Linked DNA regions of Homo sapiens: all the other regions are linked to region 2. The links are contacts of gene promoters, found by promoter capture Hi-C in blood cells and fetal thymus (Javierre and others, 2016). All regions are on one chromosome and are shown on one strand. Each heading gives the region's core, a stretch centred on a gene start or on the middle of the fragment in contact. The rest is flanking DNA. Distances are from core to core; before and after follow the strand shown.

What was found. Contacts are between HindIII fragments. The CHiCAGO score rates a contact against its expected background, and 5 or more counts as called.
Region 1: a fragment that was not itself captured here is called in contact with the fragment with the promoter of DZIP3 in region 2 in 1 of 17 cell types (M2 macrophages); the score reaches 5.1 in M2 macrophages.
Region 3: a contact is called between a fragment that was not itself captured here and the fragment with the promoter of DZIP3 in region 2, in 1 of 17 cell types (M2 macrophages). The highest score is 5.7, in M2 macrophages.
Region 4: a fragment that was not itself captured here is called in contact with the fragment with the promoter of DZIP3 in region 2 in 1 of 17 cell types (M2 macrophages); the score reaches 5.2 in M2 macrophages.

Annotation. Positions count from the first base shown.
Region 1 is chr3:107,245,456-107,248,950 of GRCh38, reverse strand. The region is part of intron 1 of DUBR (DPPA2 upstream binding RNA); the gene reads right to left. Among named protein-coding and RNA genes, the nearest start is that of DUBR, 6.5 kb to the right of the region's middle. The HindIII fragment of the contact is 2,415 bases long and covers 696-3,110 here.
Region 2 is chr3:108,587,610-108,591,073 of GRCh38, reverse strand. It overlaps DZIP3 (DAZ interacting zinc finger protein 3), which reads right to left and starts at 1,352. Exons shown (of 33, transcript NM_014648.4): 1 at 1,235-1,352. CIP2A (cellular inhibitor of PP2A) reads left to right here and starts at 1,636. Exons shown (of 21, transcript NM_020890.3): 1 at 1,636-1,800. The coding sequence starts at 1,699. RefSeq lists an enhancer at 1,158-1,437. The HindIII fragment of the contact is 803 bases long and covers 789-1,591 here.
Region 3 is chr3:107,578,682-107,582,123 of GRCh38, reverse strand. All of the region lies in intron 2 of BBX (BBX high mobility group box domain containing), which reads right to left. Among named protein-coding and RNA genes, the nearest start is that of BBX, 57 kb to the right of the region's middle. The HindIII fragment of the contact is 1,690 bases long and covers 986-2,675 here.
Region 4 is chr3:107,225,947-107,229,169 of GRCh38, reverse strand. All of the region lies in intron 1 of LINC00882 (long intergenic non-protein coding RNA 882), which reads left to right. The region is part of intron 1 of LOC124909404 (a long non-coding RNA gene); the gene reads right to left. Among named protein-coding and RNA genes, the nearest start is that of LINC00882, 13 kb to the left of the region's middle. The HindIII fragment of the contact is 5,421 bases long and covers 1-3,223 here.

The sequences.
Region 1 (3,495 bases), core at 654-3,153, 1.3 Mb after region 2:
CCAGAGAAACAGGATCAATAAAACCTATGGCTCTATCAATCAATTAATAAGGATTTATAATCAACCTATAAGGATTTATCAATAAATAAACCCTTATTTATTATAAGGAATTGGCTTACACAATAATGGAGGCCGAGAAGGCCCCAAGTCTGCTGTCCGAAGGTCTGAGAACCAGGAGCACTGATGGTGTCAGTCCCAGTTCAAGGGCAGGAGAAGATGGGTGTCCCAGCGCCACAGTCAGGCAGAAAATTCAAGCTTCCTCCACCTATTTTATTTGGGTCCTTAGAAGACTGGATCAAGCCCATCCACACTGGGGACTGCAATCTGCTTTATTCAGTCCATCAATTCAAATGCGAATTTCCTCCAGAAAAAGCTTCATGAACACAACCAGAAATAATGTTCGATCATATATGGGGCATCCTGTGGCCCAGCGAAGTTGACATGCATAAAATTAACCATCACACCTCCATGGAGGCCAGAAATTTTATGTATTCTGAGGACTCTGTCTCTCTGGCTTCCTCTCCATTTCAACCCTCAGGCATTCTTTTTTTCCCCAAATAAATGTCTTGTAAATCTATTTTTTTTTTACATGTGTTTTTTTTGGAGTACTGGAACTAATAAATTTGGACTTTGTTCTGCAGGTAGTTTAGTTACTTACAGATCAGCTTTATACTATTGAGGCTTGTTTTTAAGCTTTTTGTGGGGGTGAGGAGCAAGTGTAGTGTAGTTTTTAGTCAGGATAGTTTAGCCCTACGTATGTAACACACAACCTTTCTGGGATCTTTAGCGAATGCCTGGTTTTCAGTCAGGACTCTCCACTGTGGCTGGATGGAAATTAGATATTTCCCAATCTCACGCTAATTTTGAGAATTGTTAGGCTTAGTGTTCCGCAATGTACACAATGGGGTCTCTACATAGATTTCTGGATTTTTTTGTCTACCTTCCTCCTTGTTGATACTTTGTCCTGAAAATTCAAGCTATCTCAGTATCAACTCCAATCTTCCTCTCCTCAACTCAGCAAGACTCTGATCTCCTGCGATGGGATCCAGAGTGCTCACCTCAGAAAGGCAGGGCGATCGGAGGTCTCACTTTGTTTCCCTGCCTCAGCGATCAAATTGTATAAACTTTTTCCCTGGCTTCTGGAAACACTGATAGCCAACCTTTCGGTAAAATTTCTAACATATGTACTTAGAGCTTTAATATGCTAAGTATTTAATATGCTAAGTATTTTCTTTAAAATTCATTTCAAAATATTTTTGCAATTTTGCCGTGATTTATTTTTTGGCTCATGGGTCATGAGGTGTATGTTCCTTAAATTAATGCATTTTGGAAATTTTTTGTTACCTTTATGTACTTGATTTCTGGTTTAATTCATACTCTATATGATTTCAATCTTTTGAAATTCTTGAGACTTGATTTGTGATCCAGCCTAACATGCGCCCCAGAACACATGGTAAATGTTTTGGGGTATACTTTAAAAGAACATGTATTCTGATGTTTTTGAATGTAATATCTTATGTCTTATTCATATTTATAGTACCAATACACAGCACATAGTAGAAACTTAACATATATTGAGTTAAATAATTCAAAGGTTTTATCCGATTGGTGGCAATTCAAGACCAAATAAGAGAGGATGATGATGACATCACTATTTCTGTTAAGACAGGGCCTCATACAACATACAGGAATGTCCAGTTGTCAAGTCATGCAGTTTCTCCCCTATTCTAACCAATGTTAATGCCAATACTTTGTGATGAAAATTATCCCAGTATTTTTCCTCCTATGTTTCCACCAGTTTTCCCTTCATTGATTGTTAAGATTTATATCACTAGAGCTATTTGACAGTAGGAAACAATTACCTTAGGAAAAGTTGGTGACATTGGTCTATAAAGGTCACGGAGACATAAGAAATGGTTATTTTTTCATTTTTCACCAAACAATTCACGATTGTTTCTAAGATTACAAAAGATTAGACGATAGCTAATATTTCTATGCAATGGTCAAATTTTTCAAGTAGAATCATTTTTAAATTTTCCAAGTTCCAATGTCACTTTCTCCTTGAACACGACTCAAGGTCAAAACTTATAAATGTACACCTTCTAGTACATTTAACTTTCCAATTTAACCCTTCTGCCAACTTTATTCTGGACACTGAAGTTTTGATTATAAAGAAGGGAGGAAATAGATTTCGATGAGTCTAACAGTATATTACGTAGGCTTATAAGATGCTTCTTGGGTACAGTCTCACATCTTTTCAACCTCTGATTCCAGTCATAGCTCTGGTGAAGAGTTAACGGGAAGATTTTACCCTGCTCTGTGCTGACACCGTCTCACTTCGAGCATGCACCAAGACTCTAGCTTCCTGTCTTAAGACCTCTCTGATGCAGCAATGTGTGATGCTAAGGTACCAGCTGGACTGTCAGCTAGCTCTTTGCAGCCCAGAGGGTTGGGGTGGTGGAGGCAGTGGGTTAATGCCCCAAAGGAGCAGCCCTCAACACACAGGAGGTGGCTGCTGATGGAGAAATACTTCTCCTTTCTCCCTGAGGCAGACAGTTCTGAGATAAAGTTTAAGAAGAATCCTGAGAAAGTTCTGCATTATGTAGCCATTAATAGGGGTGGACCACTTGATAAGAGCAGTATCTGGTTTTGCTCGGACTTAGTTTCCCTTTTCCCCAGTTCACTCCCCTATCTCTCATTCCTGCTCCTGGGTGTTAGACTCATAAATAGAATGTGTCTACCTTTGTCTCAGGCTCTGCTTTCAAGAATAACCTAGATTAAAACAGTGGGTAAGTGCGTTGTTGGTACATTACATAATGCAGGGATGTAATTTTCCTTGACTCTGTGCATCTACAAAGAAACACTTATTCAGATGGCAGCATAGTTGAGGATTTCCACCTTTTTCCTTTTTGAAAGCTCATGGTCCATCCTGAGCCTGACCACCTAAAGAAAAAAAAGTTGTCATAATTAGGTTATAATTAAACAGGAAAATTTCTTTGTGAGGATGGCTCTAAACATTTTTTTTCCTGTCTGAGGGAGTCCTCAGCAATTTGGCTGGATATTTTCGTCTAATATGGAAGAGCCCTCAGTCTACTTAATCATGTAAAGCTTTTGTTGCTTTGGAAACAAGCATATTAAATTTCTTATTTTCCCTGGTAAAAAAGCTGGATCTTGGCTGGGTGTAGTGGCTCACACCTGTACTCCCAGCACTTTGGGAGGCTGTGGAGGGTGGATCACTTGAGTCCGGGAGTTCGAGACCAGCCTGGGCAACATGGTGAGACCCTGTCTCTATTAACAATATAAATTTTTTTTCAAAAAGTAAAACAAACAAAAAAGCTGGATCTTTTAGTGGTATAATTCTTTTTGTTAAGAAATTCAAACATAAAAAACATAAATTACTGGAACACTATCAGGGCTTTCTTCATTCATGAAGGAATGCTCTGAAAGATACAGGGAGTTATTAGAAATAAATTGAGATTGCCCATATGCTAGCAC
Region 2 (3,464 bases), core at 103-2,602:
GTCACCTTCCCATTTCCCTTATCAATTACCAACATTATTCTAGAGTAATAACGTCTATTTTTCTCTTTATATCATTTTCCTTACTTATTTATTGTGTTTATTATTTGGTTCCCTACCAAAATGTAAGTTGCATGCCAGTAGTATTTTTGTTTTTTTCACTGAGTCTATTGTGTCTAGAAAAGTGCTTAGCACATTGTAGATTCTCAATGAACTACTTATTGAATGAACAGTCCTATGAACCAGGTATCTCCCTTGGCCAGATTTTACCTAATGAAGATTCTGCAGCAGTGAGAACTTGCCTAGAGTCACATCGTCAAAGGTGGAGCTAGAATCTGTAAGCAACCTGGCTCTCTACTCTTTACCACTGCTGCATGTTACTGCATGGTGCCTCTCATTTATGTGGTGAATTTCAAAAGTACTATTTTGTATGTTTCCCTTACTAGACAGTTCCCTCGCAGCAGGGGATACTACTTCATCTCTGTTCCCTGACTGGCAGTTTCTAACCCATGTTACACGCTCTATAATTGTTTACGGAATGAATGAAAGCATAAATGAACACACAAGCTACCCAAAGATTTTTACATGAATGTCCCAACTGGTTAAATCATTTTTATCTTTCAGATTTAAACTTTTATAAAAAACAAAACCAAAACACCAAACCTGTCTTCAAAAATCTAGTAATTCAAAAAAATTCTTTTGAAGTGAAAAAACATGATTTCTGATAAACGATTTAATTAAATGGAAATGTACCCTATTCTTACAATTTCTACATCCTGGTTTTTAAAGCTTTATTCGACGTTAGGAAATATTAAGCAAAAAGCTCCAAAACCAGTAACTGACTCGCTTCATTACATACACATGCAATAATATTAAGCTATCTCCGATTTAAAAAACGCAAATAATAGTGCCATTTTCGTAGACATCGAGAATTATAAAACAATCAATCATGCCAGAGAGAAACAGACACCTTCACTTACAAAAACTGACGCTAACGAGTAACACCCTCCGGAGCAATACCTGGCCCAGGGTCAGCAGGAGGTAGTCTTCTCGAATAAATGTGACAAATACTTTGGTCAGGGCATGACTAATTTGCCACATAATGCCAATAGGTTGACTCTGAGAAACTACCATCCCCGGGCAGAAGGGGCGGGTGTAGGAGAGATTTAAAAACGAGGCCCCTCCCAGGCCGCCTCAAAATCTAGGGCCCAAGATTCTTCTCCTCAGAGCTCCTCACCGTGTCTAGACTAGGGGCAAGCGACCATTTCTCAGGTAGAGGATGACGCACAAACGAAAAACTGGCCATCCAACATGAAGGACGAGGAAGCGCACGAAATCAGAGCGCACAGCTGAGTGAGGAATCCCCCTTCTCCTAACCGATTCCTCTCCCGAGAAATCGCGAGATTTCTCGCCTTCACGGGATCTCAGGCCGAAACCTCGCGGCCTCTCAGACGAGGGTGGGTTAGCGGGGGCAGCTCCCAACCCCCGTCCTGGACCCACAAATCACCTCGACCCCTGGCCCACCCCGGCCGTCACCGAGAACGGTCCCCTAGGGTGCCTAGGGACTTCCGGAGCCCGACCGGATCCGGAAGCTTCTGAGAGCGAGGGGGTGGGGCCGAAAATCAAAAAAAGCGCGGCGAAAGCTAAAGGCCGGCGCACGCTGGGCGGTGGTGGTCCCTAAGCCGGGCCGCGGCCGGTGCAATGGACTCCACTGCCTGCTTGAAGTCCTTGCTCCTGACTGTCAGTCAGTACAAAGCCGTGAAGTCAGAGGCGAACGCCACTCAGCTTTTGCGGCACTTGGAGGTGAGAGGCTCTGGGGTAGAGGACAGATGGGGCTTCCCCTAGCAATTCTTATTTCACAGTGAGGCCGAGGAGTGGCGGCCCCAGCCTGGGAAAGAAAGGACAGTCCTTCGATCCCTCTGTTGTCTTTTCGTACTGGTAAAGGCTAGTGAGTGTCGGGGTTCCGCTGGCCGCAGCGAGAGGCAAGAGCGCTCACTGAAGGCTCTAGGAAAAGCGGGAGTGGGGCAAAAGGTTGGGAAGTTCAGGTTGTTTCGAGTAGGTAACGGAAAAAGCTCGGAACTTTATCTTTTCCTTTGCTTCTAGTTTTGGTTTTTCTACGAAACCAAGCCCTCAATACACAACTATTCTCAGTGACGGAAAGTCATGATTAAAACTTGGTTTTGCCCTTCGGTAATCTATAATTGAATTTGTTGCTTACTGCTCTTACTTGAACTCGGGTTGAACTCAAACTTGAAAAACATTATTTCAACATTAAGAAGCACTTCCCCTTCCTAGTAAGCGTAATCCTTTTTCTTTACCAAAATACATTGCTTACAGTTTTTTAATCTTAGAATGCTGAATTGCCTTTTTTTCTATTCTAGTGATATGTGTCCAGACGATTCCGTTTGTTTTAGGATCTTAATCTTCTGCTTTCATTTGTTTTGCATTTACGGAATTCAAACTAACATTGACCTCAGTTTAATTTTTTTAAAGCTCAATTAAGGCTTATTTTAACTCTCTGTGTCACAGCTTTCCTCTGTTAAGGTAGAATTGAACATAATTTTAAAATATATTGTATTATATTAACCCTATGATAAAAGACTAATGTGCCAAAAATTTGTAAAATATTACAGGAAAAAAATGATTTCCAGTAGTAGAGCAACAGCAGCTGTTAGTGAAGCTGCTGTTGTATTAAATGTGTCTGTCTTATCTTGAGCTTCACTGGTGCTCCTCTTTTCCCTACTTCAAGTGCCCATCTCCTAAGTACATTTGTTTTCTCTTTTTCATTCTTTATTTTAAGAAGTGCCTGCAAACCTAATAATTAAGGTGTTAGCTGTTAAATGCTTAAGGCTTTGCTTCTGAATTAGCATAGGCTCCAGAAGCCGCAGAATAAGCAGGGCAGTCCGTTTAATTTAAAAATCGGGAGTTAAGCATTTTGTATGCTATTCTGAAGCATTACCTTTCTTTGAATAAACAGGAAGGTTGTGCACTGAAAGAGATTTAAGGCACAGGGGCTTACACCTGTAATCCCAGCACTTTGGGAGGCCGAGGCGAGCGGATCACCTGAGGTCGGGAGTTTGAGACCAGCCTGACCAACATGCGAAACCCCGTCTCTACTAAAAATACAAAAATTACCTGGGCGTGGCGTCTCTCTGTTGTCCCAGCTACTCGGGAGGCTGAGGCTGGAGAATCGCTTGAACTCGGGAGGCTGAGGTTGCATAAGTAGAGATCGCTCCACTGCACTCCAACATGGGTGACAGAGTGAGACTCCGTCTCAAAAACAAAACAAAAAAAAAGAGAGACTTAAACAAAATATGGGATGGGGTCTTTACTGTATTCCTAAACTTTCAAGGGGTTTACATAAAACTCTTCTACCGTTGTTGCAAAGGTATGAAGAGCACTGGCTTCAGGTTACTACTAAAAAGGACTTTTTGTAATTAAGAGATAAAATACATACAGAGCATAAA
Region 3 (3,442 bases), core at 581-3,080, 1.0 Mb after region 2:
GGTTTGGCGAAAATTTGATGAAAATTGGATGCCCTAGCAAGCTAAGAAGAAATAACTGCTTCTGCCTAAAGTTTTGGGGGAAAACATTAAAAATAAAACGTTAAAGAATCTTTCTAAAAAATACCTTGGCTCATATATATACACATTATATACTAAAGTAAATATTTTACAAATATGCCACTACAGATGTAATAATACTGTGTACAAATTGATAAAGGTAATCTAGATTCTAATTTTAAAAAAAGCATTCTAATGGTAATGATAATAACATAATTCTTTTCTAAAAATATCAGCCAACTATTCCCTAGAGGACATAGTACATGATAAAGAATGAGATTTAACAAATTCTATAAATTCTGCCCTGCTGTTGATAAATAAATTCTTCATGTGTAACTCAAATTCTTAAGTTCCTGGTTGCAAAGTAAAAGAAACAGCCAATTCAAGGACACTAACGACGGAGTATGAAGCAGTGTATAAAAACTGAATAAATCAGCTGATGCCCACAGCACAGAAGACCAGTTACCAAACCACTAATTATAATTTGGCATATACTTATATTATCAAAGCTAGTTTTTAAAAATCTATGCTTAATTCCACAATTTTTAGCTATCTAGTATATGCAAAGTACTGCTAAGCCCCTAGAAGAAAATATAGTCTCTTCACTTCAAACCTGGTAGGAACATGACACAAATGAAAGATCACAGAAGGGGAATTTCCAAGTTTAAGAATCATAAAAGAGACTGGCCTGCATAACCAAAAGAGATTCAAAGGAGATGGGAAAAGGCCATTTCCTTCCTAGGACACAGGGAAAACGTCTTAAATTTCTCTTTTATCCACCCTACACTGCCAACAAGTGTGTAATAATAATATATATATAAGTGTATAATAATGAATGTAACTATTTTACAGATGTTTAGTAAGTAAAAATATGATCAAAGACATTTTAAGGCAAAATCATCAGCTTGGATATGAAAAATTAAAAGCTTGGTTTAAATTTGCTCCTAGTTAAATACAAGATTGTCTTTAAGCAAAACTCATTCAAGAATTCATTTATGAATAACAATTTAAAGATTACACTCAGACCAGATATTAGGTAGATTTTAGGTCTTCCATATTTTAACATTTGTTTGCATAGTTACAGAAGACTGACTAAAATCATGAAGTTTATTATCTCTTATTAAAAATATTGACTGTGCTGGGTGTGACGGCTCACGCCTACAATGCCAGCACTTTAGGAGGCCGAGGCGGGCGGATCACCTGAGGTCAGGAGTTTGAGACCAGCCTGGCCAACATGGTGAAACCTCATCTCTACTAAAAATACAAAATTAGCCAGGCATGGTGGTGCATGCCTGTAATCCCAGCTACTGGGGAGGCTAAGGCAAGAGAATCACTTGAACCCAGGAGGCGGAGGTTGCAGTGAGCCAAGATCGTGCCACTGCACTCCAGCTTGGGCAAAAAAGAGCAAAACTCTGTCTCAATTAAAAAAAAAAATTGAGTGCTTAACAGTTTTAAAATCATAGGATGTTTTCCCCTGATAACTTACCTACATATGAGTCATATATTTTGGTAAATATTTAAATATTAAGATTAAACTAAAATTTACTATAATTACATCAAAAGACAATGTTCTTTACTAATAGAAATTTTGTTTTGGAATCTTCAGTAAAATAAAACAAATTGTTAGTATATATTATCACATGAATGTGCTTGTATAATAATACTGAATAACAATGTTGGAGGATAGTGAAAATAATTTTTAAAAATCACAACAAAAAAAACCTGTGGATTTAAAATTCATATTCTGTCCAAAAGCTCACACAAGAGAAACAAGATTAAAAATCAAATAGCCAACATAAACTCCTAGTAAGTGAAACTATTTTTTCATGAAAAAAGCATGATAAAGAGCCTATTTTGTATTACATTAATGTTTCATAATTTCCTATGTCTGAAATTGGACTCTATAACTGATGTCAAGTGATTAAAATGAACTAGACCCAATTAACTGCATATATAATGCCATAAGTAAGTCAAATTTTACATAAAAGATTATTGGCTTTTTAAAATCTGCTGTGCTGATTTGCAATGAGCTTCTCAAGTACAATCCAAAGTTACGTAGGGAAAAAAAATCCACCGCCATAAATATATAATTTATATAATTAACAAAAAATACTCCAGAGCTTGCCAACTTGTGTTCTTAAAACTAGATTTTAAAATTCTATAGAAAATGATAGTAAAACTAAAGATATTCAACCATCATAGGTACCTTTCTAATGTTCCCACAAGACATTTAAGAACACAAATAATAGAATGAAGACCGATATGGTAAAAAAGAGGCAGCTCGATATCCAACTAAAACCCGAGTATGCAAACTGGGGAAGAACAAACTATTACCAACAGTGAGGATTAAACTCCTTTAACGTCTTCTTTCTGGTAATAAAAGAGGCTCCCTCAACATAGGTTAAGTGCCTATGTAAAAAGAGGCACAAAGAAATCTGCTGGGATGGGAGGGACTGCAAAGCATCCATCAACATCTGTGTGAAAAGACCCGCCAGGCTCTCAGGAGTTACACTCAAATAATGTGACCCTTCCAGACAGGACAATAAGGAGACAGATTAGACCCTTCAAGCAGTGATTCATCCCCGAATACATGGCAAGAAGGGATCCAGTATGAAGCTTGGACCCTGTGTGTTTGCTTAAGTGTCTGGGCAGCTCTTTTGGTGGCCCTATAACTAGCTAGTGGGTTGCCTATAGTCTCAGGACAAGTTACTAAAGGAGGCTCCAGACTGAGAGATGAAAGACCCAACTGTTCCAGGCACACTCTCAAACTTAATCAAAAGATAAATTCCAGTGCATGATTCGCCCAAGTGCTTACTCGCCCTTTACGAGACCTATCTTCTGACATAGATTTTGAAGAAAAACTCCTAAATATAAGCAGTATAATAAAACAATAAAGCCTATCTTAAAAGGAGCTCACCTCAACAACTAGAGGAAACACAATGTGAAAGTGAGAAAAAATAATGCAGGCGTTTGAGACATGCATCTCTTCTGAGTATGGGTAATCCCTCTCATTACGAAAGAGCTGGAATATAGAACAAGAGGGTCCCTCAGGGCCCAAGGAATGACTACATTACTTATAAAATCTTTAGTGGGCCAATATTTAAATCATCAACTCAATATCTCAAATGCCTCAAGAATAACTCACCCCAATCAGGTAGCTGCCGCCTGCAACTGCCTTCTTCTACTCTTCCAAATTTGCTACTCTTGCATTTGACAGGTTGGGGAAAATGTCACAAGCAGGGGACAGGTCCACATTCCCCTTGGCCCAGGGAGCAGGAAGAACTCTTCTCTCATCTGCTCCCTGTGAACCTCTGGATGGGCTTCTTCAAGGGAGGAGGCACCTCCCTTTGAGCTGAGTGTGCTGTGCTTCTCCTTCCTGCAGATG
Region 4 (3,223 bases), core at 454-2,953, 1.4 Mb after region 2:
ATTACAGATGGGATAACATTTGATGAAGAGGTACGTTGTTTTTTTATTTTGTTTTGTTTTGTTTTTGAGACGGAGTCTCGCTCTGTTGCCAGTCTGGAGTGCAGTGGCACGATCTTGGCTCACTGCAACCTCCGACTCCTGGGTTCAAGCAATTCTCCTACCTCAGCCTCCCGAGTAGCTGGGATTACAGATGCGTGCCACCACACCTGGCTAATTTTTGTATTTTTAGTAGAGACAGGGTTTTACCATGTTGTCCAGGATGGTCTCTATTTCCTGACCTCGTGATCCACCTGCCTTGGCCTCCCAAAGTGCTGGGATTACAGGCGTGAGCCGTTGCACCCAGCTGTTTTTTTTTAAATTTGTACAAAGGCTGTATATGGACTTGCGGTGCCTGAACTTGGACAAGTTACATAACTCCTTTGGCTTTCATATGGAGATATTAATACCTACCTTGCTAAATTGGTTATAAATATTACATGTGTGTGGCACACAGTCAGTGTTCAATAAATACTTTTGAATGAATATTAAAGCACTAAGCATAATGTCTGTGATACAGATTTGGTAAATTGCGGCCCATTTTTGCCTTGAATGAGGGAAATTTTAGATTAATAGTATATGTGTAAATATGTGCCTTTGAAGTTTCTTAAGTGTTTCATATTTTGCACTTAATTACTGCATGGTACTACCTAAAATGTTCCCAATAAGATGTTTGGGATCCTTCTTTAATTTCCTGAGGAGTACACATCCAGTATAAAGGAAATTATGACTATGTGACACATTGAAAGGAAAAATTAGTGACTCATAGTTGAGCTTATTTTGGAATCCTAAAATATGGGAATCCTAGGTTTGTAAGGAAACATTTAATCCAAACTACCATCAGTTACTTGAATTTCACTTTATTTATCAGATGTATATTGATCAGTTATTATATGTTGGAACTGTGCTATGCATGAGGACTACAAAGATAAATGAGATATTCTTGTTGAGAAGTTACAGACCTTTGCGTGAACATTTCCAGGGACAATTCACAATTACTAACCTTATTTTTAGGAATCTTATGACAATTCAAAATTTATCTTTATCTTTCATTTATTGGCTTAGCTTTTCTATTTAGGGTACAAAGAAGTAAGCATAATTATTTTTTAGAAAAATATTTCTTATACATGAACGAAATTGAATTTCTTCTGAGACATCTGTTCTTCAACTGAAACATCACTGCATTACTCTGCTGTTCCTCAAGCCTCTTCACCATTTTGCTCACTCCTCTGAATGCCTTCCAGGTTGTCTGCTAAGATGTGGAACATACACATAACCAGGGTGTCCAGGCTCCAGCTGTAGATCAGCCATCACAGAACAATTTCTTTCGCATATCAGATACTGTCTTTCAAATCTGTGGCATGATTTATACTCATAACTGTGTGACCAATATGTACTATAAACTGTCTAATCCCTATTGTTATTTAAAAAGAATATAGATGATCTCTCTAATTCCTTAAGGAGCTTTTCATATACTGTTCCAACCATCAAAATGATAATAATGGGGGCAACCTTGCTAGAGGTCTAGGTTATTGAATTACTATTTGGAAGTCATTTTTGGTCCAGTTAATTAAAGCCACTGTAATTTATATAATTTACGACAGGTAGGTGGTAGATAGCTAAGGAAGGACTTCTATAGCTTTGCAGATCTGTTTTCTATAAATTGCTGTGTCACCTAAACAATTGTTTTCAATAAACAATGTGATAGGTAATTCTATTTATAACTCTAAGCACTTACTAAAAAACCTTAATATCTATTCACTTTTTATTTTAGTTAACAAATGCATGAAATGCCTCTGTACCAAGTGTACTCTGACTCAGCACTTGGGACAAGTGCCCTGCCCACCAGAACAGTAGAAGAAGACAGTTCTAACTCAGAGACAATTTATAGCTGTGCACACTGCTATGCTTTGCTACTTATAGAAGAAGGAAAGGACAAACAGGTGTGGTAATGAATTGGAAGATGGAGACAGGGAAGAGACCTCTGTCTGTATGAAGGGTGAATGTTTGGAAGCCGTGGGAGAGGTAGACCTGGATAGATGGTATGTTAGTTTCCTAGGGCTGCTATGCCAAATTACCACAAACTTTGTGGCTGAAAACAAAGAAGAGCAAAGAAATTTGCTCTTCCATAGTCAGGAGGCCAGAAGTTTGAAATCAAGGTTTTGACCTGGCCATCCATGCTACCTATCAAGGCTCTGGAGAAGAATCTTCCTTTGTCTCTTTCTATCTTTGTCTCTTGGCAATCATTGGCATTCTTTGGCTTTTATATGCATCCCTCCAATCTCTGCCATTGTCTTCACATGACCTTCCTTCCTGTGTCTCCTCTGTATCTCTGTGTCCAAATCTCTCTCTCTCTATCTCTCTTTTTTTTTTTTTTCAATAAAGACACTAGTCATGAGATTAGGGCCTGACTTAATCCAGTGTGACCTCACTTTTACTTGATGACATCTGCAAAAACCACATTTCCAAAGAAGCTCACATTTACAGGTCTGGGTAATTTAGTCTGTTTGTGCTGCCATAACAAAATACCATAGACTCAGTAATTCATAAAGACCAGAAATTTATTTCTCATAGTTCTAGAGGCTGTGAAGTCCAAGATCAAGGCACCAGCGGGTTTATTGTCCAGTGATGGTCCAGTCTCTGCCTCCAAGATGGCGCCTGGAATGCTGCATCCTCTAGAGAGGATGAATGCTGTGTCTTCACACAGCAGAAGACAAAATGGCAAAAAAGGATGAACTCTCTCCATCAAGCCCTTTTATAAGAGCAACTAATCTCATTCACAAGGGAGGAGCTCTCATGCCTAATCACCTTTTAGAGGCAATACCTCTTAATACTATCACATTGGCAGCACTTGAATTTTGGTGGAGAAACTTTCAAACCATAGCCAGGAGTTATGCCTTGAACATATCTTTTAGCGGAAACAATTCAATCCATAACAGGTGAGATGGACCAAATTATGAAACACTTTAAATGAAGGTGGAAGAGTGTGGGTTTTATTTATAAGTCGGGGGCCACTAGAAACTTTAAGTAAGGGTGCTAATGAGATAATAACAGGAAGGTCTGGTGGAGGTATGCTATAGCATGCTGAGCTGAAAATGAAGTTTAGAGATGAGGATATTAATGAGGATATCACAGCAGTGTTCCATGGATAAAGTGAAGGATAGTTTATAAGGGAAGATGTAGAAGA